5 separate regions of the Homo sapiens genome follow, and all the other regions are linked to region 3. Evidence: promoter capture Hi-C in human tissues and cell types (Jung and others, 2019). All regions are on one chromosome and are shown on one strand. Each heading gives the region's core, a stretch centred on a gene start or on the middle of the fragment in contact. The rest is flanking DNA. Distances are from core to core; before and after follow the strand shown.

Evidence for each region. Contacts are between HindIII fragments. The study calls those that stand out against the background at their distance.
Region 1: a contact is called between a fragment that was not itself captured here and the fragment with the promoter of TMEM200C in region 3, in 2 of the 25 tissues and cell types used here (IMR-90 fibroblasts and spleen).
Region 2: a fragment that was not itself captured here is called in contact with the fragment with the promoter of TMEM200C in region 3 in 2 of the 25 tissues and cell types used here (IMR-90 fibroblasts and lymphoblastoid cells).
Region 4: a contact is called between a fragment that was not itself captured here and the fragment with the promoter of TMEM200C in region 3, in 3 of the 25 tissues and cell types used here (bladder, dorsolateral prefrontal cortex and lymphoblastoid cells).
Region 5: a contact is called between a fragment that was not itself captured here and the fragment with the promoter of TMEM200C in region 3, in 2 of the 25 tissues and cell types used here (H1 embryonic stem cells and mesendoderm cells).

The regions. Positions count from the first base shown.
Region 1 is chr18:6,085,119-6,089,888 of GRCh38, reverse strand. All of the region lies in intron 15 of L3MBTL4 (L3MBTL histone methyl-lysine binding protein 4), which reads left to right. Among named protein-coding and RNA genes, the nearest start is that of L3MBTL4-AS1, 170 kb to the left of the region's middle. The HindIII fragment of the contact is 4,180 bases long and covers 1-3,868 here.
Region 2 is chr18:6,106,534-6,111,635 of GRCh38, reverse strand. The region is part of intron 14 of L3MBTL4 (L3MBTL histone methyl-lysine binding protein 4); the gene reads left to right. Among named protein-coding and RNA genes, the nearest start is that of L3MBTL4-AS1, 150 kb to the left of the region's middle. The HindIII fragment of the contact is 6,013 bases long and covers 689-5,102 here.
Region 3 is chr18:5,892,916-5,897,706 of GRCh38, reverse strand. It overlaps TMEM200C (transmembrane protein 200C), which reads left to right and starts at 2,185. Exons shown (of 2, transcript NM_001395400.1): 1 at 2,185-2,677. The region is part of intron 9 of MIR3976HG (MIR3976 host gene); the gene reads right to left. It overlaps LOC121725015 (a long non-coding RNA gene), which reads right to left and starts at 1,980. Exons shown (of 3, transcript NR_172505.1): 1 at 1,621-1,980. The HindIII fragment of the contact is 12,914 bases long and covers 1-4,791 here.
Region 4 is chr18:6,067,698-6,072,486 of GRCh38, reverse strand. The region is part of intron 16 of L3MBTL4 (L3MBTL histone methyl-lysine binding protein 4); the gene reads left to right. Among named protein-coding and RNA genes, the nearest start is that of TMEM200C, 170 kb to the right of the region's middle. The HindIII fragment of the contact is 5,309 bases long and covers 1-4,789 here.
Region 5 is chr18:6,037,578-6,042,512 of GRCh38, reverse strand. The region is part of intron 16 of L3MBTL4 (L3MBTL histone methyl-lysine binding protein 4); the gene reads left to right. Among named protein-coding and RNA genes, the nearest start is that of TMEM200C, 140 kb to the right of the region's middle. The HindIII fragment of the contact is 3,462 bases long and covers 1,151-4,612 here.

The DNA of each region.
Region 1 (4,770 bases), core at 529-3,028, 190 kb before region 3:
CTGGGACTGAAACATAGGTCGTCTGATTAAATACAGCATATTTTCAGTACAGTACATTAGCAATCATATTGCCAGAAATATCAATGATAATAACTATCTACTATTAATAGCACATACTTACTTGGGGCTGCAAAGCGTTATGCTAAACAATTTGTGTACATCATAGTGTTAATTTTATTTCATCCTCCCAACAACCCTGTATGTGGTAAGTTTTCTTATTCAGATTTTATAACATAGGCATCTAAAAGTTCAGAGAGGTTAGGTAGTGTCTGAGGTCATGCAGATGATAAGTAGAAAAAAATCCCACGTGCAATTCAACTACGTTAGACTAGTGAAAGAATGACAGCTTAAGGCTTTGAAAAAGCCCAGCTAGGTTCATATTTAGTCTTACTTTCTACTGATGTCTAGGATTCTCAGAGTCACCTTATGATGCGTCTGTTTCTTATTTTGTGAAAATAGAACCTGCACGTTCTGCACATATACTCCAGAACTTAAAGTTTAATAATAATAATAGAACTACTGAAGGGAAGAATCTTACCATGTTTTCCCCAAACTGATGTTTCTTATTTATACTATATATAATACAAAATGTCCGTCTTGAGCACGTTTTATTATAGTATACTAAAGGCTTCTACCTGCAACAAGAGAATATAATGAGTCATTAAAACATTTTCATCATAAAGAAAATTACTTTGGAATGCAGCTCCCCTCTACTCCCCATATTGTCTATTAGCTGGTTTCCCCAGGCCTGAGGGGGACTTTTTTTTCAGGCATTTTTTTACCTGCCTAAGTGTTCTTTAATAACTTCCTTTGCCTCCCAGAAGCATTGTTTAATATATTCTAATTCACACAATTGATAGCACCACCATTCGTTAAAATACCTGTCATATTCTATCATTGCTATTAAGAAAATCTAAGAAAATGCCTAATAAAGCTCACTTTGTTTTTCCTGATGCCTGCCATATTATAAATTTCACGCACTTTTTGAAAGCTAATATTAGTAATAAAAATGCCTGGGGAAAATTGTGGTAATCAGAAAGGATGGCATGTAGTGGAATAGTTCCTTAATGATCTTGGTGATAAACTGCACTGCCATGAGCCAACTAGTTTATTTTGGCTGCAACATAAGTACCTTCTATGATCTCCACCCTCAGAATTATAACAATGTTAGTTGGTTGTCCCACACATTCACCTTCCAAGTGAGTAAATAGGTTCTTTAATCCACCAGCCTTTTTCTCACTTCTTACTTTCACTTTCTCACTCCTCAATTTCACTTTCTCTCAATTCTCTGCTTTGGGAGGTAGAGTCTACTTACTGGCCCCACTCACTCCCCATCATCGCCTGCAGTGTTGTTTTCATTCCTGCACTGTGCCTTTGTTTCCTTTCTTGGTACCTCATTTACTCCTGCCTGCATCTCCTCCCTTTCCCACGGCTCACCTCTCTCTTGGAGTTCTGTGGCAGTTCCAATCTGTAAGAGCTTCTTGAAGTTGGAGTTTGTGTTTTATGTGTCTCTCTATTTCTAACACTTATTGCAATACCTGACACATACTAGACACTCAACAAGTTAAATAGATTTTGAGCAACCTACTAGGTGCCAAGGATGGTGGCCAGCCCTGAGAGGCCAGTCCTATCCTTGCTAAGTCCAGTCCAGTCCTATCCTTGCTAAGGCCAGTCCTATCCTTTCTCAGAGCCAGTCCTATCCTTGCTCTCAGCATCCCTCTCTCCTTTTGGTCCACACCACATATCAGCAGCTTATTTGTGTGTCTGCATGTACCTTTTTAATAGTTTGTTGTGCATATGCCATGTCTTCTCAAAAAGACTATAGGCTGCTAAAGGGAAGAAACAATTTATGCTTTTGCTTTTTCTTCTTTATGTTTCACATTATAGATCTTTAGTGTACCTAAGTTGATTGATTTCATCATATACATCTGTTTTTCTCTTAGAGTCTCCATTCCTTCACCTGTAAAATGGTCATAAATGTGAGGCTTATATAAGATTTAGAGTATAGGAATATAGATGTAGGTAGATATAGACATTGATATTGCTATAGATATATGAATGGGCCTGGCACATAGAAGAGACTATTGAAATAATAGTTCCATGTCTTTTCTCCATTTTTATGAAAACCATTGATTTTAAAGTCTTGCAGTTGGACCAGTTCTAGCGGTGTGTATATCACACACCTCAACACCAACCACAGGAATTTAGACCTTTATTTATTTGGTCTAAGATAATACTCAGTATCTATAACTAAATTAAGCCCCTTAATCAAGAAAGTAGTGATCAAAACACCATGACAAACCAGAGTTCTTCTTGCCCTATAGGGGGTTTTGGCTGGACAGGAAATCCCAAGGCCTTTCAGAGCAGCCCCCCTCCAGCTCCCCACCTCCACTCAGACTCTGAGGAGCCACTAGCCAGGCATGACAACCTAGGAGCTCTACGGAGGGAAAGGACTCAAGAGATTAATTCAACTTCTGCAATGTGGAGACAAGGACACCAATGCCAAAGAATTTTGCTATTTCATCAGCACTGTTGATGGTGGCCCCTTTGAGCCCTCTGACTCCCAGCTCATTGCTCTCCTCACTGTTCCATACCACCACCTGCCCTAGAATTAAGATGCAGTCAGAATGGAATTTGGTTTTGGTATGTAGTTAGCTGACTAACACTTATCTTGCTGAATTCAGCACCGTGACCATAGCCAGGTCCCGAAATTAGACATATTCATTCATTCAACCTTTGTCTGTTGAATAAATATTTAGAAAATACTGTTCCAAACTCTAGTGATAGAGCAGGGAACAAAACAGACAAAAATCCTTGTTCTTATCAAGCTTTTCCTTGGTGATAAGAAAATCACCCAAACTAGTAAGTGTCAGGACAAGGATTTGAACTTAGGTGGGATGGCTCCTGTCTGTGCAGACTTGGCAGTAGGCATGCTGATTCGCTCATGACATCGATATTCATTCACTCCACAAGTATGTGTGGAGCTGCTGCTGTTGCCAAGTGGTGTGTTAGGTGCTAGGGATGTGGAGGTGAGCAAACCAGTTCCATCTTTGTGTGGAGCCAATTTTCAGGTAGGGGAGATGGAAGAGGAATAAAGAAAGCAAACCATAAATGAAGAGAAAATCACAGTTGGTTGACAGGTGCCATAGGGAAGTAATGCGGAGTAGAAAGGGTGATGCTCAAAATGTTTTCAGTAATCACCTATCATAAAGGGCCCAGCCACTAAGGGAAAAAAGGTTCTGTTGAATATTGTGCATATGGAAAACGAAATGAGTTGTGCCCGGATCAGCTCAGGGGCATGGAGAGGATCTGGGATGAGATGGAAGGGCCCAGCTCTTGCCAGTCTCCACCTGCCTCACTTTTTAGGCACCTCACTGGAGTCTCTAGAGTCTTGTATTTCCTAAATGAATGTACAGTTATGCTGAAACGTTATGAAATAACCCATGGATGCCATGCCATGTCTTCAAAATATTTTTCCGAGCTGATTCTCGTAAAGAATTTTAAAATTTATTCTTAATCTCTGGATTTCTGGAATCCTGCCTTGGCTCAGGCTTTCAGTGACTAAATGCCACAGAACAGTGTGTCCTACAATGTCCACAGCAACTTGTGTAGAGGAAATATTAGTGTTCCCGCACCCCAGAAAAATAAAACCTTGCAGCCTGAGCACCAGCAAGCATTTTATCATCTGTATACTTAACCTGGTTTGAAAATAATTATTTCTTACTCATTGTAAAGAGTAAAGTGGGACTTTAACATGATCTTTTTCTCATTATTACAGCAGTACTTGCTTATTATGGGAAAAGAAAAAATACAGTTGAGTAGAAAGAAGAAAATAAAAACTAAAAACATTAACAATATCCACACCTTTTTCTATCAAACAGCATAACATATAGATGTTTGGAAAAATATAAGAAAATGTCCACCTTAATAATTCCAGTAATGTAGAAGTTTTAAGAAATTAAGAATTTCTCATTCTCCACTCCTAACTCTGATGCTGCATGCTTAGGTCACTAGGGTTAACAGATTGCCACCTGTTCTCTGTACCTTTTTGATGTTCATGTATGCACATGTGTATGTAGATGTATGTATTAGTCCATTTTCATGTTGTTATAAAAAACTGCCTGAGACTGGGTGCTTTATAAAGGAAAGAGGTTTAACTGACTTACAGTCCAGCATGGCTGGAGAGGCCTCAGGAAACTTACAATCATGGTGGAAGGCAAAGGGGAAGCAAGGCACCTTCTTCACAGGGTGTCAGGAAGGAGAATGAACACAGGAGGAACTACCAAACACTAATAAAACCATCAGATCTTATGAGTACTCACTATCATGAGAACAGCATGGGGAAACTGCCCCCATGATTTAGTTACCTGCACCTCGTCTCTACCTTGACACATGGGGATTATAAGGATTACAATTCAAAATGAGATTTGGGTGGGAAACCACAGCCTAACCATATCAATGTACATTCACTCTTTTAAAATAATTTATATTAACATTTTGTTAATCTGCAATGTGTTTTATTTCATTTAACAATATGTCATGGGTAAATTGTCATATCAACACAAACAGACCCAATGCATTATTTTTAACAACTGCATTGTATTCCATGGTGTAGGCATACCGAACTCATTCAACCATTCCCCTAATGACCATGGTTTCCAGTATTTCTCCTCTTGTAAATAATGCTGCAGTAAACATTTTCATATGAATATTATGGAACTTATTATTTGCTGATGCTTTTTACTGCTATATTTTAAAAGGGTTCATTAC
Region 2 (5,102 bases), core at 2,446-4,945, 210 kb before region 3:
GAGAGACTGAGCAGACACCCTTTGCAGCGGGCTGTTTCTTCTCTTCTGTCTCTCCCTTTCGCATTTTCAGCTTCCTCTTGGATTCTCCATCTCTAGTGACAAGGAAAGGCCATGTGCCATGGAACCTCAATATGCAAGTGATATCATGGGCTGAAGTGGGGCTCTTAGCAGAGCAGCATTGCTCTGCATAAAGTTGGCCCAGGGACTAGTGTGCTTAAAAAATAATAATAATTGTTTTAAAAAATCCTAAGTCACTTTTATTAAAATAACAACTTTATTACATTATAATTCAAATATAATGCAGTTCACTCATTTAAAGTGGTTATTTACACCCATTCAATGGTTTTTAATGAATTCACAGAGTTGTACAACCATCACCACGATTTTAGAACACTCTCATCAGCCCCAAAGAAAACCCTTATCCATTTGCATCTTCCTTTCATTTTCACTCCTTTGCAGCACTATTTATCTCATTTCTCTTTCTCACCTCTCCGGCTCCATCTTATTCTCTTTTTCTGATCCTTCTCTTCCTGCTTGCTTCTCTTCTTAGGTTCTTTCTTTTCCTTGCAAATGGTGAATGCAACTCTTGGTCTAGGCATTGTTCATTGCTAAGGAAGAAAAGGAGGGCAGAGGAGAGATAGGACCTGGGGGGTGGGAGGAAGGGGAACAAAGGGGTATAAGGAGGAAAGGAACCATTTATACACAGGTCTGAGACCAGCTGGAAATGGGCATGAACAAAATTCCACGAACACACAGAAAATTAGAAAATGAGAATGCGTCTATCCAGCACTTTCCTCCTCTCTTACCCTTGTTCTTTTATTACTCTACAAAATAGTAACTGTAGGCAGACAAGTGATGCTCATGTATAGCTGTCATTGACCATGTCCTCTCTGATGCATACAGAAACCACACATACATGTGTACACCCACATGCACACACTCACATCCTGCACAATACACATGTACAACCACCTGCAAACACACCACACACATACACATGTGCACCCACATGTACACACCCACCCCCCCATGCCACACATACAACCCCCCACGTACACATGTACACCCACATACACACACCACACATATACATGTACACCCATGTGCACACAGCCACACACCCCGCACACGTGTACAACCACATGTACACACCCACCCACCCATGCCACACATACAACCCCCCACATACACATGTATACATGTGGATACACACACATATTCACATGCACACACACATGCAGCCCCCACACATACATGTGTCCACTGACATGCACGCACACACGCATACAGACACCACACACGAGAGAGAGAGATACAAAAGCAGACCAGGTATGTGTATGTGTGTGTAAAAACTGACTCTCATAAATGTACAGATGACATTTCCAAAATAATGGTAAGTGCAACATATTTTCACTCTACTACCAGTGGATTAAATTTTGAAACTCAATAGGGGTCTGAGATGTAAATGGCATTAGAGTTTCCCGTTAGAAGCAGAGACACTCCCAGCCTGGGAGGGAGTATGTAGACTGAGTTATTATACTTCACCACAAAGTTGTTTTAAATCATATCTGTGGGCCATTAGTAAATAACTGTGTTAAGGCACGTCCTTGGCTCTACAGACTGATGCCATCCACTCCTCCTTCACCCCGTGTGCGAGTCCACCTCGGCCTGCCCTGGTCCAGATCCAGAGTCTATCAGCCCCAGTGCACGTGGGCTGACAGATGACTCAGTGCCTGGAGGGTGCACTGACCTTCCACTTCTCTTTTATTTAAGGGAAAAAGGAAATATTAGAAAAAGACCAAATGAAAGTTTGAAGAAGTAATGAAAATCTCTCTCATTTTTAAATAAAGAGAGGATCGGGGACCCATAGTTGTTAGGGATCCTCTGCATGTTGAGACTCTCCCTGGCCTCCTGGCATCTTCTGGGGTGCACGGGCAGCTTCCAAGGGGGCTGTGAGCTCACTGACAGATCTGCTGGTTTTGTGTAGGTTTGCACGTGGGCATTTGTTTAGCCAGGGGCTCCACAATGTTCAGCAGATTCTCACAAGGATTTTGACCCCAAACAGGCTCTGGAATGGTATTAATGAATCATTCAGAAAGGGCCTCCAAGAAGAGCATGTAGCCTATTAGAGGGGTGCTCAGGCCAGCAAAGGGGCAGGGACGTCCTGGACAGCTACTGTGTCACCCACAGGGCTGTCACTGGTGCCCAGGAACTTGGAGTTGATTATCCTAGAAACGAGAAATGCAAGCCTCATAACAATGGTTATGACAATGACTAAATCTGTCTACATACATGCACACACATAATGCCTGCGCACATGGTATAAAAAAATAAAATCAGAAGGAAACAGAAAAACGTTTCTTAAAAAGTGGTCCAGTCTTGATCTAAATTCATGGTTAAAAATTGGTCCACTATTGATCTAAAAGATATTGGCCATTTTTCAGAGAAAAGATCATGTGATCTATTGAGAAAGAGACTGCATGTTATAAAACCAAAAAGAAATCCTGATGTACCTTCACTAGTTTTCTTCCTCCAGACCATCCCTACCTTAAACTCCCTCTAAAAGTACACATCTGCATAGACTCATAGTCCCTTGAAAGTCTCAATTCAGCCATTCCTTGGTACCCATAGGACATTGGTTCCAGGACCCTGGAGAATACCAATATTTGAAGATGCTCAGTCCCTTATATAAAGTGGTGTAGTATTTGCCTATAACATATACATATTCTTCTGTACACTTTAAATCATCTCTAGATTCCTTGTAATACCTACTATAAAGTAAATGCTAAGTAAATAGTTGTTATACTATATTTGTTTTTTTGTGTTATTTTTAATTGTTTGAGTTTCTTTTTCAAAGATTTTTTATCTGTGGTTGGTTGAATCTGAGGATGTGGAGAGCCACATGTACCCCAAAAAGCAAAAGAGGGGGCCCTCAGAAGGCCCAGAGGAGGAGAAATGGGACAGGCATTGAGCTAGTGCTTCTGAGCTCTAGAAATGCCCTGAGATTGACTGTTTCAATTAATTTTTTTTTAATGGATGGACTCCTAGTCAGTGACTCTAGCTGTGAAATCCCATTCTATAAAATCATGATGAGAGCAGTTCATGGTCCTGAATAATATATATTATTGCAAATTGGACCTAGTTCCAGTCTTCATAGATTGTATAACTAACACATCTAGAGAGCTTAATATACCAGCTTATCCACACAGATTTGCCAACAACACATGCAACTGGAAAATTTCTATTGTAACTGTTTTTTTATAGACAGTTTTTTAAATTGACGAATTTAAAGACAAAAGAAAACTTTTTCTGCTGTTTTGAATATTATTTCCCCTCAGTGCCAGGCACAAGTCCCACATCCTCCTGGAGTCTTCCCCTGGCTGCAGTGATGTTGTTCATGTCTGAAAGTATCTTTAGACTAAGGCATATGTGCTCGACCATTTATGGCTGTCATTAACTATCCACAACCTGGACTGCAGTTGGAGACCAGGGACCATGCGTGACACTCCTGTTTTAGTTAGTGTAGCAAGGGCTGAGAGTCTCCTTGCTCAAATTAGATGAGAACCCCACTCCAGGAGTGTGTTGCAAGTGACGTAGATGGGGGAGGAAGCCTCTTCAGACCAGCTCCTTCCTGTTGGCATGGCACGCGATTTTTGGGGGAGCTCAAGTGGTTAATCCTGTTTCTCACTTGTCACTTGGGCAAAGTAAACAAGGTACAAAGTAAACAAGTGGTGTTCGGTAAAACCTTTGGAGATTTCCAGGCAATATTAAATAGATACACGAAATGTGCAGTGGCCAATCTGTGAGCAGGCTGAAACTTTGAGAATGCATCTATCTTCTGCTTCAGCCACAGGCATCTGCTGGTGGTGCCCCAAAAGTCATCTTCATGTCCGAGTTTTCTACCTCTGCTCACCTGCAGAATGAATCCAGAATTATATGGCAGTCCTGTCACTTAAAATGTTAGTAACAACGTTTATTATCTTAGCTCCACATCAGCATCTCTGCCCTCCCATCTTTATCATCACACTCATGAGTTTCCATTCCATTGTTTTCTTTAACAACTCCCAAATTTATTAAGCTTCCAAGTACCACTATTTTTGTAGAGTGTGTTCAGATCCAACAACTCCTTCTGTTGCAGCCACTTACCCAGACCGCCTGCATGCTGTCCAGGTCCTGTCCCCATCCCTCAGGCTGCTCCTCACAGCCCGCGCAGTGAGGATGATCTTCCAGACCGTTGTCTAGACACTTTCCCAATTCGAGAGCCAACTGAATCTGTGATCAGTTGAGCTCCTAGCCAGACATTGTCCTCTGGTCCCCATCACAAGGAAGGGTCCTTCCCAGGCCCACCCCTCAGCCCATTGGCTCTGTCTCCTCTCTTGAACTGATTGAGGCTAGTCCTATTTCAAGAACCTGCCTCTGCCTCCTCTGCAGCAAACTAGGAAACAACAAGGGCGGCAACAGGAGCAATTTTATGAAAACTTAACTTCTTTATATTATATTTATTTAATGAAATAATGTGCACTATTAATGAAATCATAAGCACTATTCTAATGCCTGGTTTTATATTAAATGCTTAATAAGTATATATGCCTATTGTTATGATATATCATTTTTAAACATATACATAATTATAATAAACAGCAATATTTGCCTACATTTGCCTTTCAGGTTTGTAATTCACATTTTTTGTAGTCCCCAGGTCAAAGCCCCTTGAGGTGGGACCCTTGCCATATTTGGGGCACCACATCCCTAGTCCAGGGCTGTGCATACAGGGACATTCTACAGAGATTTGTGGATGGATTTAAATGGCAGAGGCTTTTGCTTCCTAATCCTGACTTTAACCAAAATAGGATACTATTTGGATGCTTGTAAAGCTGTGTAAGGTAAAATGTTGTATTTGACTGGGTAGGTGCAGCTTTAGTATGTGTATATGTGGGTATGAAATATTTAAATTTCCATTTAAAACTTGCTAGGATAGAGCTTTAAAGCCTTTTTCTGGCAGAAAGTCAAGGCTCTCTCTTCTCTATTTTCTTCTCTTTTCTCAGGGTTTTATAAATTACAGCTTGTCCCCATAAGAAATTATCCAGATGGCCAGTTCTCCA
Region 3 (4,791 bases), core at 936-3,435:
ACTCCGCTGGAAACAGATGTGATCTGCTTGATTTCCTCTGATACCATGAGCTGAAAACAAAGAAAACTACTGAACGTGATAACATTCAGGTTAAACAGTTCAAAGTTCCAAAAAGCGCAGTTTGGAAGGAAGCCTTTGAGTAATAAGCCATAAATTTTGTTGCAATCATCAACATAAGACAAAACTAGCTATGTCCCAAGGCCCTTTGTCTAGAAAAGAATTCTTTTCTTCTCCAAATCCCTCAAATGAGTTTTAAATGTGCAAATGATGGCTATAATTTACACAGAAACTTGAAACTATTAGCAGTTTAATCCACCTAAAATCCTAATGAAGTTCTGCAGTATTATTCCTGTTTGTACAGCCCAGCAAACAGAGCACAGGAACTGCCGCCCATAGACTCTGGCAGCTAGCTGTGCAATGAAATGAGACTGTAGGCCCAATCTTTGTAAAAAATACCAGATTATTATTGGGATTCAGGAGATCTGGAAGTTCAGAGCCAAAAAGGCTTTAGAAAACGACAACTAGATCTTATTATTTTTCCTTTGCAGTGATTTCTCTAAAAGGAAACAACCCAATGTGGGATTTAAAACTTTCCCTTCATTATGGTTTGTTTTCTAATAGCCTGAATCTGAGCATGAATAGGTAGGGGGAAGGCGGTGGGTTCCGGACACCCTGATCATCATTCAGATTCGTTATTTGCTTGAAAAGGGTGACAGAGGCCACCTTTCCAACAGGTGAATGCAGGGTTGCCTTTTAGAAAACACTTCTGCTTCGTTCCCTCCTGTCCCCCACCGTCTCTATCCCCATCTCTTAGATCACTGTTCACATTTATATCATTGAACTTGTAAATTGGTTGTCTTTATTGTTCTTTTTGAAAAGTGTCTGCTCTAGATTTAAGCACAAGTGAATGCTGTGTATGTGGGGAACAATCTTGTAACAGGAGCTGCGGGCAGCAGAGCCCTCCTGTGTGGGTTTTGTGGACCCCTAAGCAGCAAAACTCAGAATATATAACACCCACCACCACCAAAATATTTATCTGGATCCAAAATTTCAGACAGCACTTGCTTCATCTGCTCTTCTGTTCCTTTCTTCCTGAATCCTGGCTGCCTCATTTCAATAGATAAATGAAATCTTTCTCACTTTCTCAATACTCTTTGGGGAAATTCCACTTTGAAATTCTCTTTTCCCTGTCATTTTTACTTTACAGTTGAGAAGACAGGGATGAACTAGGAAACAGGATCTCGATCTCTTTCTCTCTCTCTCTCGCCTTCTCTCTTTTTTAAATGACGTAGGGAGTTTGGACATCCTCCCTACCCCCACCTCCCCTCTCTGATTCCAACCCTGATTCCTGATTCCTGGAGAATTATAGTTTTCCTTTTAATGCTTGCTGATTACCGCACCGGGGAGGAGCAGGAGGGGCTGCCCAAGGAAGAGCCCCGGAGCCCATTCTGATCTCCGAGGAGCCCCAGCTGCCGGGTCCCGGTCAGGCTGGTCACAAAGCCCGGCGGGGCTGGAGCGCGAGCGCATCTGGCAGAGGCTTCCAAGCGTCCCGCGGTGCGCCCGTCCCGGCGGGGGCGGCTCCACTCCGCCCGGGCCCGAGTTCGCTGGGGGACAACTTACTGTGCTTGCCGAGCGTCCACACTGCAAACTCCCAAGCGGGAGGGGGAAGAGAGCCCAGGCTGCGCCGTGCCGAGGAGTAGAGGCAACAAAAGACCGAGGCACGAGGGGAGGGAGGCAGGCACGGAGGGACCGCGGACTCTGGCCCCTAGCTCCCCGAGAGCGCCCCTCGGATGCTGCTGGGGAGACCCTCCGGGCCTCTCTTTGGGGCCTCTGGGGCCCGCGGCTCAGACAGGTAGTTGGAGGAAAGAAGAACAAAGCTGCCCGCGGAGGCAGGCGGCGGTCTCGGGGCGCCCCGGGGCGGGGAGAGCCGAGGCCGAGGAGGCACCCCGCGCCCCCTGCCCCGCGGCCCGAGCGCCCCGTGCCGGCTGCCTCCGCCGCCTCCCCTCACGCCTCCTCCTCCCCGAGGAATCGGCGCTTCCGAAGGGACGGGCGGCGGGCGGCGGAGGACGCGGGGGAGCGGGGAAGGCCGGCGGCGTGGGGGGGGGCGCCGGAGGAGGGGGTGGGGCGGGGGGCGGGGGCGGGGGCGCCCCCCGACTCCGCCGAGCCGGGCGGGCCCCGACCGCCACCCTGCCGCAATTTCCCTGTGTCATGGCTCCGGTCTCTTAGCAACAGCCGCCAGTCCGGCCGCCCCGAGCCGCCGCCGCGGGCTCAACTCCACCCGGCGGAGCCCGGCGCGCCGCAGCCACACAAAAGAGGCGCGAGGGCCGGCGGCGCGGCCGCAGGGGCCCGCCCGGGAGCGCCGCGCTAGGGGACGCCGGGAGCTGGAGGATGAGCGGCGGAGAGGAGGGCTCCGAGGCGGGATGCGGGATGCGGGATGCGGAGGACCTGACACTTCTTGGAAACTCTTGGAAATGGCTCCCGCCACAGCGCCGGCGGGGACTGCGAGCCTGGGGCGGGCGCTCGCCCCCGCGGGGCTGCTGAGTCGCGCTCGGATGCGGGGCCCCGGGGCGCTGTCCCTGCGCTCCGCCGTCGGCTCGGGCTGAAAAAGTTTCTCCATGGTTCCTTTGTGTCGCCCGAGCGCCCGTTCGCCGGCCCCGACCTCCCTCGGTCTCCCTGGGTAAGTGAGCGATCTTGCGTGCGGAGAGTGCTGCCATTTTGAGCAATTCTGCCAGTCCCCAGCCCTTGGGGGCCCCTCCCCGCCCCTCGGGTCCCCGAGTCCCCGCGCCCCGGGCTGGTGTTCGGTGAGAGGCTTTTTCCCGGGCTGGCTACACGGGATGCGCTGCCCAGAAAAAGCTAGTTCAGGATTGCCCTCACTTGGCTCCTGCCTGTCTTCTTTCCAGAGGCGGACTCCCAGCTGCTGCACTCATGTGACTCCAGCTAACATCAATAAGCAGACCAAAGCCAGGGGCCAGGGGGTCGCCGCCCTGCCAGTGAGGGGCCGGGGTCGAGGACCTGGGTTGGGTACCGGGCACAGCACAGCGCTCCCAGCCTGTGGGATCCGAGCCTCCGAGCCTCAGAGTGGGGCTTAATCCATCTTGAGCGGAGAACTTGAATGTCTCTCTTGGAAGCAGTTGTATTTTTAGACATCCCTCCTTTGCTTCCCCCATCCTCCATTCTTTAACCACGGTAAGACCAGCTCCAGGCAGTAAATTGCGAGGGCAGCCAAGCTTGACTGCTAAGTTTGTTTTCTTTCATTAGGTATAAAGGAAAACCTCAAAGGTGGGTCTCCCGTGGCATCTGACCTTTGTCTGTATTTCGTGTCAGATGATGATACATTAAAAGGGAGTACAGCCTTCAACAGAGCTGAAGGAATAATAAACGAGGGAGTTAATTACTAGCTATTAAACTCATTTTAAAGATGTGCGGTAAAGGACTGTTGAAATCCATTCCAACCTTCCTTACATTCTACCGGAGCCAAAGCTGCCTTGCTGAGGAGAAATCCAAGTGGGTTTCCTCCTCCCCCAAGGCATCCAGCCTCCCGGCGCACCTGATCAATGCCCAACAAAACATGTAGCCTTTCTGCGGTGGGAGAGCCACCCTGCCAACTGAGTCTGAGTTCGCTTCTAAAAAATGTCTGGTCCTTAAAGCCTTCTTAAGATAACCACGGATCTCCAGATTATTTAAGATGCTGGACTCCAAGGATCACTTAAAACAACAGTCTCTATGTTACAACCACATAATAAATGTGCTTACTTATTTGGGATTAGAGATAGACAGTAAGCTCTTTTTTTTGTTTGTTTCAATCTGTACTTACTGGTGCAGCTTAAAGGTTTATAGATGTATTCTCTATACTGACCCCTCTCTTATCTACCTGGTGCTTCTCTTTACTGAAACCCAGCTAAGTCCCAAAGAGATATTGATTTGCAAATATTGCAAAGAGCTGATTACCATTTACATTCCCACTGATGGAGAAAAGATCCTGCCTATATTGATATAATGGAGGAACTCAAGGGCCAAAGCCTTTCACCCAATCACCAATTAAAAGCAAAATTCTACCTACCACACATTTTCAAGGGGGAATTTATTCTAAAACATGAATTATCTGATAAAGGATAGAAGAGCAAAAGGCTTGGGCGTGATATCTAAGTCTTTCAGTTCATACAATGTCCTTGATTTTAGCATCTCATAGGAGGGAAAACAACTAATGGGACAGAAAATGTTCTACTCTGGAGATACAGCAAGACTGTAATTTTTAGAGGCTGCCGAATAACTACAAATATGCATTTGTGAATTTTCCTACCCAGGCTTTTACAAACAACTAAATAAACTTCCTAAGAGTAGTCCATTGATTGTTGCCACCCTCCCTTCCTAAAAATGACCTCATGAGAAAGGGATAAGGGGGAAAAACAAAACAAAACAAAACAGTTTTGGCTTGGGGGAAATGTCATTCTACAAATCATCATATTATGTAGACTGCTTTACCTAGTTAGTTGCCTACTCATTTGAATACTGGGACTCTGTAGCATGCTCTTGGCACCTTAATAAGGGGTCAGAAAGCTATTATGGCAGAGTGTTAGTTTTTTTAATTGTAATTTTCCCATATGAGAAAAAGATCTTTCTCTTGGAGATTCCAGGGGACTTCTCAAATTCCCTGATGAAATCTGACACATGATACCTTTAAGGGAGTTCCTCTGAGGGAGGAAAGAAGGCCAGAAGGAAGAGCTCAGTTACATAAGCAGTTACCTAAAACTAAATATTCCACCCCAAGAAGCTGTCCAGATGTTGCTGAGA
Region 4 (4,789 bases), core at 959-3,458, 170 kb before region 3:
ATGAGTTTTGATTTGTCAGATTTCATAATAATTTAATTCAAAATATTTTCTCATTTACATTGTTTTTCTTTTATATGTGGTATGAAGAAATATACTGATTCATTTCCAGATATTTGGGGATTTTATTAACTTTTTGTTATTGATTTTGAATTTTATTCCACTGTGGTCAGAGAGTATACTCTGAGCAATTGTTAATCATACCGTTAGATCTTTATTATCTTTACTGATACATTTCTTCCTGCTTATTCATTTGATTCCTGAAAAAATGTGTTAAAGTCCTCTACTATGGTTGTGATATTACCTGGTTTTCCTTTTATTATACACATTTTTAGGCTATATTACTAGGCTCATGAAAATTAGAACATTAGAATATTAGTAATCAATTGACCCTTCAACATTTTGAAATATGTATTTTATTTCTCCAATTGCTTCTTACCTTTGTTTCCTTTGTCTGATATTAGCAGTATTATTTTGATTAGTATTTGTTTGTTATATTTATTTCCGTCCTTTTATATGCTCCATCATTGTCCTTATATTTAATGTGACACTTCCAAGTGGCGTGTGATTTTTATGTGTAAATCCAATCTAATAACAATCTTTCTTCCTTCCTTCCTTTCTTCCTTCCTCCCTCCCTCCCTCTCTCTCTTTCTCTTTCTTTCTTTCTTTCTTTCCTTTCTTTCTTTTTCTTTCTTTCTTTCTTTCTTTCTTTCTTTCTTTCTTTCTTTTTTTCTTTCTTTCTTTCCTTCCTTCTTTCTTTCCTTCTTTCTTTCCTTCTTTCTTTCTTTCTTTCTTTCTTTCTTTCTCTCTTTCTTTTTTTCCTTCTTTCTTTCTTCTTTTTCTTTCTTTCTTTTTTATGGGATCTATCTCTGTCACCCCAGACTGGAGAGCAGTGGCGTGATTATGGCTTACTGCAACCTTGGCCTCCCAGACTCAAGCAATCCTCTTACCTCAGCCTCTCAAAGTGCTGGGATTACAGGTGTGAGTCACTGCACCCAGTCAACAGGAGTCTCTTAATTGAAGGATTTAATACATTTCTATCTAATGTTATTAGTGTTAAGTTGGACTTAGGGCTACTATCTTTTTTTTTTTTTTTTTAATTGAAAGAGTCTCACTCTGTCTCCCAGCTGAAGTGCAGTGGTGTAATCCTGGCTTCCTGCAACCTCCACCTCCTGGGTTCAAGTGATTCTGATGCCTCAGCCTCACAAGTAGCTGGGATTACAGATGTGTACCACCATGCCCAGCTAATTTTTGTGTTTTTAGTAGAGACAGGGTTTCACCATGTTGGCCAGGCTGGTCTCAAACTCCTAGCCTCAAGTGATCTCCCCACCTTGGCCTCCCAAAGTGCTGGGATAACAGGTATAAGCCACTGTGTCCAGCCTATTGCTACCATCTCTATAATTGTTTTCTATTTTTCTCAGTAGTTTGTATTCAATTTTATATTTTTGCTGTATCTTTTTAAACCAAAATTCATGTGAGTATACCATTCTCCCTCTATTAGCTTGTTGTTTATTTATTTTTAATATTCTGTTAGTAGATATCCCAGCTACTACAAAATGCATCTTTATCTTTATATAGAATCATTTTTCCTCTATCTGAAAAATTATCTTTTGTACTTCATTCATAGTGTCTTCTAGTTATTATTATTTTTTTAGACAGGGTTTCACTCTGTCACCCAGGCTGGAGTGCAGTGGTGCGATCACAGCTCAATGCAGCCTCAACCTGCGGGGCTCAAGTGATCCTCCCACCTCAGCCTCTGGAGTAGCTGGGCCTACAGGTGTGTGCCACCATGCCCGGCTAATTTTTGTTTTTTTTGTTTTTTGTTTTTTGTTTTTTGTAAAGATGGGATCTCACTATGTTGCTCAGGCTTTTCTCAAACTCCTGGGTTCAAACAATCTGCCCACTTTGACCTCCCAAAGTGTGGGATTACACACATGAGCCACTGCGCTTGGCCTAGCTGATTTTTTTTTTTTTTTTGAGTAAGTTTTTCTTTGTCCAGAAATATCCTTTTTTCACCCAAACTTTTGAAGAATATTTTTACAGGTTATAGAATTCTAGATTGGCAGTTAATTTTTTTTCAGGCTTTAAATATGGTAATCCGTTGGCTTCTGACTTCTATTGTTTCTCTCAAGAAGTCAGCTGTAGCTTTATTGTGTCTGTTTGAAAGGAGTATGTCTTGGAGTGTGTCACATTTTATCTGATTACTTATAAGATTTTTCTGTTGTCTTTCATTTTTAGCAGTTTTACTATGAAGTGCCTTATATTTGTCTCTTTAGGATTCATAGTGCTTAAATCTGTGGGTGTATGGCTTTTTACCACTTTGAAAAATTTGACCATTATCTCCTCAAATATTGTTTATGCTCCATTCTCTCTCATTTCCCCTATTGAGACTCCATCTGCGAATATATTAGACTTTCTTAGTTATGTCTTAAGAGCTCTTTTCATTATTTCCCCTCCGTTTTTAGTACATGCTTCAGCCTGGATATTTTTCTAGTGGCCTATTTTCAAGATCAGTGATTCTCTCTTCAGCTGTCTCCAAACTGCTATTACACTCATGTAATTAATTTTTAATTAAATTATTGTTTATTTCTTAGTTTAGCAATTTACCTATGTATGATTTTAATAGACCTTAGTTCTTGAGTAAAATTCTCTATCTTGCCATCTAATTTTGTAAACACATTAGTCACCGTTATTTATCTGAGTCATCTTTTGCCTTTGTTATTGGAGCACTGAGTGAGTGATATCAGCCTCGCCAACTGCATGGGAGCTGGGTGAGGCTTACTGCTGCCTGCTCCTCCCCACTACCTTTGTGAACTCTTCTGTGCAGAAGAGGCAGTTATACTCCCTTCTGGAACATTAGCCCAGTGGCCTGAGAACCACCTCCCAATCCTCACAGTGGCCGCAGCTAGCCCAGCTCAAGAAGAGTCAGAGCACAGACCCGCCTAACCCTGCCCTCACTTGGTTGTGCCCCTTCACCCACCCTGGTAGCTTAACACAAAGGACATAAACTTTGGGGAACTTTATAGCCCTGCCTGTCACCTGAGGAAAAAAAAAAACAACACTTTCCTGCAGCAACTTATGGCAAGCTTAAATCCCACTGCTACTACTGCAGCTGGTTGCTCTTTTGCAAATGCCACCTCGTGGCTGGAGGCCATCCAACACAGTCCATTAAGCACCTCTAGGTAGAATGCGCCCAGGAAGGAGAAAATGACTATGTGACCTCAGATATCACCACTGCGTACAACACCCTGACTAACCAGAGGTCCTGAGCCTGTCCATGTGGCAAGTTCACTGCAATTGTAACTCTCATTTGAGAAATCCAGCACACTAAGCCTTATCTCCAACCAAGAAATCTCACAGAGTGTATGTAACTGCCCTGCCATCTCCATCAAAGATGGTGCTGGTGTACACTGCTGGGAGACTTGAAATTAGTTCACATTTCTGGATCCCTTGCAGACATTCCCCAGCATCAGCTCAAAGTGTGGTAGTCCCACTGGGTATCTAGACCCAGAAGAGCACTAACAATCACTGTGGTCTGGGTCTCAGGAAGTCTCATTCCTAGGGGAAGGGGGAGAGCATCACATCAAGGGAACATCCCATGGGAAAAAGAATCTGAATGGCAGGCCTTGAGTCCCAGATCTTTCCACTAGTGGGACGTTTCTTATAGCAGAGACACAATTGCAGTGCTGGGTGCAGTAAAGAAAGTCTACACCTCTACCCCAACAATCAGGCAGCATCTCTGATCATAAAGGGGCTTGGAAAGGGGGTCCTTTTCCCACTGGTACACCACTGCACACACAGCTGGGGCTTCTCCCAGAGGAATGCAGTGTAGATGCACATATAGATGGCCTTCCAGGAACAATTTAGGGTGATTGCATCCCCACAGGAGGAGCACTTCTCAAATTCAGGCTTGCAGAGTCACAACTCCTCTCTACTTGGAACATCAACATTCCTACAGATGCAAAGAGTTACCTGTCTGATCTGAATAGCTGGAATACTGGGACAGGAAGGTGGATAGCTTTCCTGCTTGCCTGGCAGGGGAGCTGAGGTGGCTTCCACCCTTCACTCTGATAAAACCTCAGCACATTTAATTTAGAGCTCCCCCAGGCACCTTCATCAAGGCTGGGACCTCTGCCCACCATTAGATATATCTATGCATCTCTTTAGCTACCACCAATACCTACCCCAGGGATACCTCTCCTATTGGCCTGAAGGCTGAATCATCAGCTTAGTAAATAAAATACTGGGAAAAAATTAAATAAATAAAAAGGTGTACACCATGGGAGAATGAGATAAGCTTCAAGAGATCCTAGCCATTCCAACCCTACAGGAGACAGTGAACTTACCCACAGGCCAAATGCATGGTTACTGCAACCAGCGTCTGGGAAAGCCAGCGCACAAAAACTCTCTTTAAGGAACTCCTACAGAGTCTTCCCCACTAAAAGCATTAAGAATCAAATTAGGCTATAATAAATGATAAACATTAAAGTCAGATCCTTAAGAGGGAAAAGAAGAAATTAAAGAAAAAAACACAGTCAAATCAAAAATAAATTTAAGAACAATTTGAAGAAATGGTCCACCCAAAATAAGAAGAAACCAGAAAAGTAATTCTGGTAATATGACAAAATGGGGTTCTACAGCATCCGCAAGAAATCACACTAGCTTTCAGCAATGGATCCAAACCAAGATTAAATCTTTGAAATACCAGATAAAGAATTCAGAAGGTTGCTTATTAAATTACTCAAGGAGATACTAGAGAAAGGTAAAAAACAACATAAAGAAATTTTTTTTT
Region 5 (4,935 bases), core at 1,632-4,131, 140 kb before region 3:
GTGGCAGAGTCATGGGTCAGATTGAGTGATTGAGGGTGGGGTAGGTGGGAGGTATGGAAGTGGCTGAGAAGTTCAGGGGAGAGAGGGTGAGGACTGGAGGCAGGTGTGGATTTACGTGCTTGGTGTGTGTGTATGTGTCTGTGTGTGTGCACGTATGTGTGTGTGTATGTTTTGTAAGTGAGGGCACTTAGTGTTCCAGTGTCAATGGGAAGGATCCTGGTGAGAAGGAGAGGTTGAACTTACCCAAGACAGAAGGGTCATTGAGGTCATAAGGTTTCTGAGACAACTCAAGAGATGGGATTAACCTTGGGTGGGAGGAGGAACGGCTTCTGTAAACTTTGAATTAGTGAGGTATCTCACTTTGGTGGCTTCTATTTTCTCTGTAAAGCATGAGGCCACATCCTCTGTGGGGAGGGCTTGGGGAGGTATGGCAGTTGGGGAAACCTGTATGGGAATATTGAAGGAAGCGGAAGTTCGAAATGGTTCACAGATGGCCGGGTGGTAGTTCATGCCCATAATCCCACTACTTTGGGAGGCCAAGGCAGGAGGATCACTTGAAGCCAAGAGTTCAAGACCAGCCTGGGCAACGTAGTGAGACCCCCATCCATACCAAAAAAAAAATTAGCCAGGCATGGTGGCACACACCTATAGTCCCAGCTACTCAGGAGGTTGAGATGGGAAGATCACTTGAGCCTGGGAGGTTCAGGCTGTAGTAAGCCACAGTTGTGCCATTGAACTCCCGCCTAGGCAACAGGGTGAGACCCCATCTAAAAAAAATAAAAGAAGAATGAAACAGTCCACTGGGCGCATAGAAAAGCAGGTAAACCAAAGCAAGGGTATATAGTGTGGCTGCGAGTGCTGGACCTCTCTGTGCTTGGTAAGCAGGAACCATTTGTGGACACGTTCTGCCTTCATGACAGCCTATGCACGCACAGGAAGAGCAGGTAGTGAGGCTCTTCCCGACTGCCATTTTTGCCAAATGATCACAAAGAAAAGACAGAGAAATAAGGGGATGTGGAGCATTTGCAAGACAAAAAAAAAAAAAAAAAAGTCAATTTCAGCCTAAGCTGAAGAAAAGGACAATGAAGAAAGAAGATTAATAGGTTGGAGAAATTAGGGGGGGCCAGTCCATTGAAGACCCCAATGGGTGCTCACCTGTTGGAAGCAAGTTGGTGAAGACGAGATGGCAGATGTGGTGGGCATGGCCTGAGATTCACTCTGCAGCATGCTCACCTGGGCAGTAAGGTAGATCCAGAAGCGGCTGGCTCCACAGCTGCAGGCCCAATGGCAGGGATCTCCTGGTTCCACCACTGATAGACTGCATGTACTGGGCAGTCCGCCCCCATCTCCAGACCTTAGTGTCCTTGCTGAGATTTGGGGCCAGCTATGCCATCTTTTCAGGTTGGGAGGATTGAATAATGTGATAGAGGTGAAACAGCACAACCCCTGACTCCTGATTGGGAATCTGTCAAAAGTGTCAGCCACTGCTATTTCTTTGTTGTGACACATTTTCTGAACAGATCACAAGTTTTGCTGTTGTTCTTGTTTTACTTTTTTAAATTCTAGGAATCAAGGCAAAAAACAACTCAAATTTTATAGAAATTATGTGATTTGTAAATATATTATTATGTTGACTTAATCTCCTCCCCTGTGACCCTACAACTGAGAGTGGAGAGCAGAAGGCCAGCCATGGGAATGGCAGGATAAGGGTCGAGTGGAGCCAAGAATAGGATGGTTTAGGGGCTTGCCACCTTCAGGTGTCTCTCTTTCTCAGACTAGGACTAATGTAGGTTCTTTTCATAAACCTTGAAATGAAGGTTTCAAGCACTGAGTGACTTAAGCCACTCAAAGGACTCCTTGTCTCAAAAGAGATGTGAGTAAAAAGTTTACTCATTTAGGTTTATGTACTTGTCTATCACCCACACTCAACAGAGATGGGACTGAATTATATTTATCTTTGTATATACAGACCCACGGCAGGTACTCAGTAATTGTTTGCAGTATGGAGTAGACTGTAATTAGTAAAGTTTTTGGTTCTGTAATGGATTGGTGCAGGATATCTCTATCTCAATGCTATAGACATTTTGGGTCAGATAATTCTTAATTATTGGAACAGGATATATAGCAGCATCCCTGGTTTCTACCCGCTAGATGCCAGAGGCAACCCTCCCACCCCAAGATGTGACAACCAAAAGTGCTTCTGGATATTGCTGAATATCTCCAGGATGAAGGGGACAAAATTGCTTCTGGTTGAAAGACCACTGGTTTAGAGGAAATCTTTAATGTGATCTCTTGTGTTGAATTTTTAAAAGTTTATTTATTTATTTGCACAGGAAAAAAAAATGAACTACAATTCAAAATACCTTGCAGGGTATATTTCTGAGAAGTAAGATTCCAAGTATTTTTAATTTCTTTCTATATTCTTCTGGCCTTTTGAAATTTCTCATGTTTCCTACTGTACATGCATTACTCTTATAAGTTGAAAGGGAGAGAATGAAAAAAGTTTAATATTTGAAAACGAGTTTTTGAAAATACATAATTTTTCCTGCTATCCTGACATTCTCGATAATCATATTACTTAAGCTAATGAACATTGTGTTATTTTTATTATTGTAAGTTTTGTTTCATCGTCTAATTTTTCAGATACTTTTACTTATTTATTTCAATCAGCAGTATCATAATCAACTATTAATTCTAGTTCTAGATATTGGTACAAAGTCATTGGTTAGCCAGGCACTGGAGTTTAGTTTCAAAGACACTTGACCCTTTTCTAGAAAGGCGGAAGCTTACCCAGCATGAAGGGACTTTGAGATAACCACGCTGGTCAAGTGTCACTGTGAGAGGCTTAGGGCCCAGGAAACAGGATGGAAGAGGGTATGCGTGTATGTGTGTGCATAAATCCACTGGCATACTTAATTTTTAAAATATCAGTCAACTAAGAGAATCTGCACAACTCCAAATAAGAGAAATATCCAAAAGAAAGGATCTAGGGCACTCTTTCCTTACCCTTTCATTTGCATTGGTTTAAATTGGGGGAAACTCAAAAAGTGAAGGCTCTTTTCTTTAGCACAGACATTCAGAAAGGGATTGGGGTGAATAGTCCTTAGAGAATATGTGGGAAGATAAAGAGCCGACTCTAGCATTAAAATGTGGGTGGAGCAGCGTATTTTCTTTTTAAAAGCAGAGAAAATTTTCTTATTTTTCCTTCAGTGTTTTAATCACAGGCAATCCTAGATAGCAACTGTATTAGTCAGCTCAGGCTGCCAAGACAGAATACCACAGTCTGGGTGGCTTTATCAACAGAAATTTACTTTTCACAGTTGTGGAGGCTAGAAGGTCAAGATCACAGTTTGGGGAGGGTAGGTTTGATTCTGGGGCCTCTTCTCTTGGCTTGTAGACTACTACCATCTGTCTGTGTGCTCCTGTGACCTCTTCTTTGTATGTGTATGCATGGGGCTGGGGGAGAGAGGGTTGGGGAAGAGGGAGGAAGGGAGGTTGGGGGAGAGAGAAAGAAAGAGAGAGAGTAGGTGCTCTCTGGTGTCTTTTCTTATAGGGCACTAATCCCATCATGAGGGATCCACCCTTATGACCCCATATAACCCCTAATTTCCTTCCCAAATCCTCATCTCCAAAAACCGTAGGGGGTTAAGATTTCACCATATGAATTTTGGGGGAACACAGACATTCAATCCACAATACCTAATTAATGATAACATGCAAAAATGGGTGACAAAATTGCTAATTATTTATGAGGCAAAGACTGTCAAGTTTTCTCTTGAATAATATTTGTAGTTCAGTGGAATGTAGGCATTTTTGTTGTTGTTGTTTTTTATTTCTCTTAGATGCCTCCTCACATTGCTGCACTATACTTCTTAACAGAAGTGCCGCTCTCCCCCATCAATGTTGCTGTCTTTTACTAGGATCACCAAGTCAGGTTACCAGTCAAAAAATGATCCAGAGGCCAGGTGCAGTGGCTTATGCCTGTAATCCCAGCACTTTGGGAGGCCGAGGCAGGAGGATCATGAGGTCAGGAGATCGAGACCATCCTGGCTAACACAGTGAAACCCCGTCTCTACTAAAAATACAAAAAAGTTAACCGGTCGCGGTGGCGGACGCCTATAGTCCCAACTACTCCGGAGGCTGAGGCAGGAGAATGGCGTGAACCCGAGAGGCGGAGCTTGCAGTGAGCCGAGATTGCATCACTGCACTCCAGCTTGGGCGACAGAGCAAGACTCTGTCTCAAAAAAAAAAAAAAAAAAAAGATCCAGAAATGGATTTCTAGTATCCTCTAGAATTTTTTTCTGGTATCTCTGTTAAAAATATGTCTAAGTAAGTTATTTTATCTGCATCAATATTGATTAAATCTCATTGTGACATAAATATTCAATCAGTATCCCTGCCCTTCTCTCTCTGTCATTGAACTAGAACATTACACAGATACTTCCCACTCCTTTTTTATCCACTTATCTTAACCTGTTCCAAAGTACGTATTCTCCTGTCTGTGGGTGCAAGAGTTATTTCACCCCGTTATCCTCTCTCCAAGTTATCCTATCAACTTCTTTCTTCCCAGTGCCAATTACTCATCAGGAGCCTACTCCTCCTTTTATTTCCCTGTTCAGAGCAACCAGCACTTTAATACATTAGCCAAACATCTAAATATTCCCTAATATTTATTATTAAGCCTCTCCTATATGATTTCAAATGTCATTATGCAGAAGGACAGAGTAAAATTTTCTAAACCACAATCCTTTAAGCCTGTGTTAACAGAGGCTACAGTTGGTTGCAGTTATGTTGGCTATAGTTACACATTTGTGTTCTACCAGTTATCTGTTTGCATACTGCAAGCAGAATACTTCACCTGTTAGTAGATGTGAAGCTAATTTAACCCGAGATTTACAGAAATCAAGTTTCTAGTCTTGCATTATACTTCCAAGG